Regions from separate parts of the Homo sapiens genome. Here region 2 is linked to region 1. Evidence: promoter capture Hi-C in human tissues and cell types (Jung and others, 2019). All regions are on one chromosome and are shown on one strand. The core of a region is centred on a gene start or on the middle of the fragment in contact, and the rest is flanking DNA. Distances in the headings are between cores, read along the strand shown.

The links. Contacts are between HindIII fragments. The study calls those that stand out against the background at their distance.
Region 2: a contact is called between a fragment that was not itself captured here and the fragment with the promoter of COIL in region 1, in 1 of the 25 tissues and cell types used here (spleen).

What each region holds. Positions count from the first base shown.
Region 1 is chr17:56,959,603-56,963,063 of GRCh38, forward strand. It overlaps COIL (coilin), which reads right to left and starts at 1,448. Exons shown (of 7, transcript NM_004645.3): 1 at 1,173-1,448. The coding sequence starts at 1,417. LOC105371836 (a long non-coding RNA gene) reads left to right here and starts at 1,546. Exons shown (of 4, transcript XR_934875.4): 1 at 1,546-1,810. RefSeq lists a silencer at 1,050-1,159 and enhancers at 1,286-1,580, 1,330-1,469, 1,480-1,529. The HindIII fragment of the contact is 17,787 bases long and covers 1-3,461 here.
Region 2 is chr17:57,852,961-57,856,184 of GRCh38, forward strand. No RefSeq gene overlaps it. Among named protein-coding and RNA genes, the nearest start is that of MRPS23, 4.5 kb to the left of the region's middle. The HindIII fragment of the contact is 4,394 bases long and covers 1-3,224 here.

The sequences.
Region 1 (3,461 bases), core at 198-2,697:
ACAAAATGATACGCCACCAGAAGTCTCAGGGGACACTGGGCACATGAGAACTAAGGCTGGACAACAGCAGGTTATGAAGAAAACACAACGATTCCCCTTTGTCAGCTTCCTGCACCTGACCCTGAAGGCCGCCATGGGTAAGGCCGGGTCTCCGGCACATCTGCACCATGGGCACGCAACAGAGTCGCACAGTGCCTAGCTAAGCGCGGATGTGCTAAATCAAGGCTGAAAGAAAGCCTGGCCCTGCCCTTAGGCATCAGGGATTTTCCAAGTTTGATTCTCCTGTCATCAGAAGCATCCCGGGAAGGATGCTCGTTACACTGCAGATTCCAGCCAGGCGCGGAGGCTCACGCCTGTAATCCCAGCACTTTGGGAAGCCGGGAGGATCACTTAACGTCAGGAGTTCAAGACCAGCCTGGCCAACACGGTGAAACCCCGTCTCTACTAAAAATACAAACAAACAAACAAAAAATTAGCCGGGCATGGTGGCGCCCGCCTGTAAGCCCAGCTACTCGGGAGGCTGAGGTGGGAGGATCGATTGAACCCGGGAGGTGGAGGCTGCAGTGAGCTGAGATCGCGCCACTGCACTCCAGCCTGGGTGACAGAATGAGACTCAGTCTCAAAAATAAAAATAATAGGGGCAGGATGCGGTGGTGCACGCCTGCAATCCCAGCACTTTGAGAGGCCGATGCAAGCGGATCAACTGAGGTCAGGAGTTCGAGACCACCTTGACCAATATGGTGAAACCCCATCTCTACTAAAAATACAAAAATTAGCCGGGCGTGGTGGCGGACGCCTGTAGTCCCAGCTACTCGGGAGGCTGAGGCAGGAAAATTGCTTGAACCCGGGAGGTGGAGGTTGCAGTGAACCGAGATCGCGCCACTGTACTCCAGCCTGGGTGACAAAGCAGGACTCCGTCTCAAAAAAAAAAAAATAATAATAAAAAATAATAATAAAATGCAGATTCCTGAGCCCCAAAGTTGACTACACCAATCAGGATCTCCGGGGTTCGCGAACGTGCATTTTTACAGCCCCACCCCCCTCCAACCCTCGTCCCCTTCCCCATCCCCCATCCCCTCCACTACCAGGTCTAGCGGCTTCAGGCCCGGGCGTGCGCAGGCGCGTCCCCCGCCCGCCGCCCACCCGGCCGTCCCGCTCCCTGCGCCGCGCACCTGAGGCAGTCGTTGTCTCTCACAAGGCGCGCGCTCTCGGCGGGGGGCAAGAGCCCCCCCTCCAGGTAGAGGCCTAGGAAGGCCCCAGAACTGAAGCCGAAGCGCTGGCGGATGAGACTAATGAGATCTGTGACGACTCGGCATCTGTTCAAGTCGACCAGAAGCCAGAAGGCCGTACAGTGCGGGGTAGCTGGCGGCGGGTAATCAAATTGAAGCCGTAGCCTAACCGTCTCGGAAGCTGCCATCTTGCTTGGTGCTCAACGGAAGCCGAGAGATACCACGGGGCCACCGAGAGGCGTGCTCGGGCGGCTCGCCCCCGCCGGAGCCTTTGGCGTGTGCCACCTAGTGGTGAAACCTGGCTACTACAGGCTGCGTCTAGGCGAGAACTCGGAGCGTGGTTGATTTCATTCAATTTTGTTCACGGCAGGGCTGAGGAAGGGAATAAGTGAAATGCCTTTATTACATTTCTACTGGGCGCTATGTAGGGTCTCCTAATTAAGGCAACTCTCTGGATAAATAACATTTCTCCTCAGCAGTAGTCTTCTAAGATATTTGCTCATCGACGTGAAAGATTTTTATAAAACAATCCTAACACATTTCGCTGACAAAATTTTTCATCATGATGAGTTGAAAAAGATGTAAGTCCTAGTGTGTTCTCAATGTTGAAATTTTGAAATAACACTGTTAATCATTCTTCCAAATGTATCCAGTGGAATATAAATACCTTAGCCTTTTAATACCCACCACCAAACAAAAATGTCCTTGCATTTCTCACCAGATAAATAAATCAGTATTTACATTATTTCTTCTATTTTTTGAACTAGAATTTACATTTCTCCACATAATATATATTAACTCCTTTAATTTTCATAACAAAAGTTAGGAATTATGAACTGTTATCCTTATTTAGAGGATTTAAAAAAAACAAGGTTCAGAGAGTTTAAGAAGTAACTAGAGGCCAGGAGCAGTGGCTGACGCCTGTAATCCCAGCACTTTGAGAGGCCAAGGTGGGCGGATCACTTGAGACCAGGAGTCTGAGACCACCCTGGCCAAAATGGTGAAACCCCAACTCTACTAAAAATATAAAGATTAGCCGGGTGTGGTGGCATGTGCCTATAATTCCAGCTACTCGGGAGACTGAAGCAGTAGAATCGCTTGAACCCAAGAGGTGGAGGTTGCAGTGAGTCAGGATCGTGCCACTGCACTCCAGCCTGGGCAATAGAGCAAGATTCTGTCTTAAAAAAAAAAAAAGGAGTAACTTCCCCAAGTTCACTAGACTAGTTAAGTTGTAGATACCAGGGAGTCAGTAGATGAATTGAAAACAAAATTTTTTAACTGAAAGTAAGGGTTTTTGGATTTTCTTTTTTTAGAGTCTTGCTCTGTCACCTAGGCTGGAGTGCCGTGGTGCACTCTGCCTCCCGGGTTCAAGTGACTTCCCACCTCAGCCTTCCTAGTAGCTGGAACCACAGGTGTGAGCCACCAAGCCCAGCTAATTTTTGTATTTTTTGTAGAGATAGGGTTTTTCCATGGTGGCCAGGCTGGTCTCGAATTCCTGAATTCCAGCAATCTGCCTGCCTTGGCCTCCCAAAGTGGTGGGATTACAGGCATGAGCCACCACCTCCGACTAAAATCAAGTTTATTAGAGAATTAAAGGAATAAAAGAATGACTACTCCATAGACAGAGCAGCGAGCCCATACTATAAGTATACTCAGTCAAGTATACTTATAGTTACTTCTTGACTGTATGCTAAACAAAGGATGGATTATTCATGAGTTTTCTGTATCCCTAGGAAAGGGGCAGGGATTTCCCTCAGAACTGAGGGTTACTCCCCTTTTACACCATACAGGATAACTTTTGGGCATTTCCGGCTGGGCGCAGTGGCTCACCCCTGTAATCCCAGTTTCTCCACATCCTGACTACCATTTGGCATTGTCACTATTTTTTAGTCATTCTGGTAGATGTGTTGTGGTATGTTGTGGTTTTATTTATTTGTTTGTTTGTTTTGAGGCTGGGTCTCATTATGTCTCCAGTGCTGAAGTGCAGTGGCGTGATCACAAGGCTTACTGCAGCCTTCACCTCTGAAGCTCAAATGAACCTCCCACTTCAGCCTCCTGAGTGGCTGGGACTACAGGCATGCACTGCCATGCCCTGCTAAATTTTGTAATCTTTGTAGAGACGGAGTTTTGCCACATTGCCCAGACTGGTCTCAAACTCTTGGGCTCAAGCTATCCTCCCACCTCAGCCTCCCAAATATTGGGATTACAGGCATGAGCCACCATGCCCAGCCT
Region 2 (3,224 bases), core at 136-2,635, 890 kb after region 1:
TAATAATCTGGATGGCAGTGTCAACTATCTTCGTGGCTTGTTGCAAAAGTAAAAGAGATCATTCATGTAAAGCACTAATCACGGCACCTGGGACATAGTGAGTGCCTGTGAGCAGCAACAAGCCTGATGGCTGTAACAGCAACACGATTGCTGTTGTGCTGTGTCATCCACCCATTGCCACCTGGACTGCAGCATTTTGATAATATTTCATAGATTGCCTTACTGTTTTACTTTCTTGTTAGATGATCCGTTCGTTCCAGAAGCATATAAACACCTACCTGACTATTCTGAGTCTTAGAGAATCCAACGGTCCAGTAGGGAAGACAGAGAGGTAAATACATAAATATTAAGTTATGTGCTGAATAGCTTGTTGATTGTATGAAGTTTGCTAGGCCTGCCCTAACACCACTTGCACACAAAGTGGGTGGCTTAAACACAGATTTATTTTCTCCCTATTCTGGAGGCCAGAAGTCCAAGATCAAGGTGTCTGCAAGTTTAGTTTATTCTGCACTTGGCTAGTTTCTCCTTGCCTTGGAGACAGCTTTCTTCTCCCACGTCTTCACATGGTCTTTCCTCTGTGTGGGAAGGTTTTGTCCTAATCTCTTCTTATGAGGACACCAGTCTTATTGGATTAGGGCCCACCCTACTGACTTCATTTTAACTTAATTACCTCTTTAAAGACTACCTCCTATTATAGTCACATTCTGAGGTACTGGAGTTAGGACCTCAACATATGATTTTTGGGGAGACACAGCTCAGCCCCTAACATAGATCAGTAAGTGCTGAATAGTTCCCATTTGCCCAAGCAGTTCCACACCCACTCTCTGCCGTCCTTCGCCCTGTTCTGTGCCTCGGGAGGCTGGCTTCTGTGGCCTGCATCCACCAGCTCCTTGCCCTCTGCTTCTGGCTGGATTCCAGTTGGTACTGCCAGCGGGCTCCCTCCTGGAACATAAAGTTCTAGAACATAAAATCACAGCTCTCTCACCAGGTTCCAGCCACCGTCCCTCTCCTGCTCCTTCAAGCCTAGACGTAGTTGGCAAGCTGTACCCCTCTGTTATTAGCCACGGGGTCTAGGCCATCCCTTGTGGCTTCCCATCACTCTGCCCACATCTTTGTGACAATGCCCGTATTTAAATAGTGCGTGGAGGTCAGGCGTGATGGCTCATGCCTGTAATCCCAACACTTTGGGAGGCCAAGGCGGGTGGACCACTTGAGGTCAGGAGTTCGAGACCAGCCTGGCCAACATGGCGAAACCTCGTCTCTACTAAAAATAAAATAAAAAATAAAAAATAAAAAAAATTAGGCGGGTGTCATGGCACACACCTGTAATCCCAGCTACTTGGGAGGCTGAGGCAGGAGAATCACTTGAACCCAGGAAGCGGAGGTTGCAGTGAGCTGAGATTGCACCACTGCACTCCACCCTGAGTAACAGAGCAAGACTCCGTCTCAAAAATAAATAAATAAATATTGTGTGGGAATTTGTCAGACAAAATGAGGAAGAGCATCATCCCCAGTAGTGGAACAGCTTTGGTAAGTGAAACTCCCAGCACACTGATGAAATCATGAATGCTGCTACTCACCTATGACAGCTAAAATCAGGGAGCAATTAGCTTTAAAGGGAGGAAAGCAATACAGTATATTCAATACACAGTTTAAGAATTATGTCAGGCCAGCTGTGGAGGATCATGTCTGTAATCCCAGCACTTTGGGAGGCCAAGGCGGGAGGATGACTTGAGGCCAGGAGTTTGAGACTAGCCTGGCCAACATAGCGAGACCTTGTCTCTACAAAAAAAAAAAAAAAAAAAAAAAAAAAAAGAAGAAGAAAAGAAGAGAAAGAAAAAAGTTAGCCAGTGCAGTGGCACAAGCTGGTAGTGCTAGCTACTCATGAGGCTGAGACAAGAAGATTGCTTGCGCCCAGGAGTTCGCAGCTGCAGTGAACTATGATCGTGCCACTGCACCCCAACCTGTGTGACAAAGTGAGCCCTTTTCTCTAAAAAAAGAGAGAGAGGATTATATCAGGATCCGTTAAAAAAAAAAGAATTGTAGGCTTCCTGAGTCTGAGGACCAGGAGGATGAAGGGCAGGGAGGGCTATTAAAGGAGGAGGCAGCCAGGCACAGCTGCTCACGCCTGTAATCCCAGCACTTTGGAAGGCCGGGGTGGGTGGATCACTTGAGGTCAGGAGTTCGAGACCAGCCTGGCCAACGTGATGAAACCCCGTCTCTACTACAAATTTAAAAATTAGCCAGGCATGGTGGTTGGCACCTACAATCCTAGCTACTCGCTACTTGGAAGGCTGAGCCAAGAGAATTGCTTGAACCCAGGAGGCGGAGGTTGCAGTGAACTGAGATCGTGCCACTGCATTCCAGTTGGGGCGACAGAGCAAGACTCCATCTCAAAAAAAAAAAAAAAGGGGGGGGGGAGTCAGAGTACCTTCTCTTTCCTTCCGGCTGTTGGGCTTGTGCCCCTCTCCTGAGAGCTCCCCTTCAGACCCCCTTCCTAGGCTTCAAGGAACTGTCAAGAATCAGTTCAGGTGGAAAAGCTTTTCAGCCCCCAGCACACACTCGGTAAGATCGGGTGAGTGCCCAGACCTGCTCCCTCCCTTCCTATGCTTATCTCTTTCAGGGCTATGTCTGTGTTGTAACTCTGTTTACCTGTCTGAGTCTGGCTACAGGGGCCTTTTTGAGGGCAGGAACTAGGACTTTTAGCTCTGCCTCCCCACACCCGGCCTGGTGCTTGGCCCACAGCTCTCAGAGTTTTCCAGTGAACAGCATGGATAAATAAAGCCAAGTTAGGACAAATGAGGATGCTGTCATCTCAGCCTTCCCTTCACTGCCTGTGCATACCCAGCCCTCCCTCTCTCCCAGGCCCAGCTTTCCTTTGAGGCCTTCCCCAGATACACAGATAGGGAGAGAGCTGTGGGTGAATGGAAATAATCCCCTACCTCACCATTCACTTCACATCGTGAGCATTTCCGGTCTGGCTGTCCTCTGTGCCTCACTGACAGATAGTTCTCTTTTACAGTCCTCTGGGCCTCAGCTTCATTTGTAAAGTGGGGATAATCATAGCACCTAGCAGAGGGTTTGTAGTGAGGCACCAGTGGGTTCATACCTGCTAAGTGTTTAAAACAGTGCCCGGTATATGGTAACTACTCAATAAATAGAGTGATGGTAATTTCGGACTACGCTTTAGAGCAACAGTGTCCTTCAATTAAATCTCACCTGAG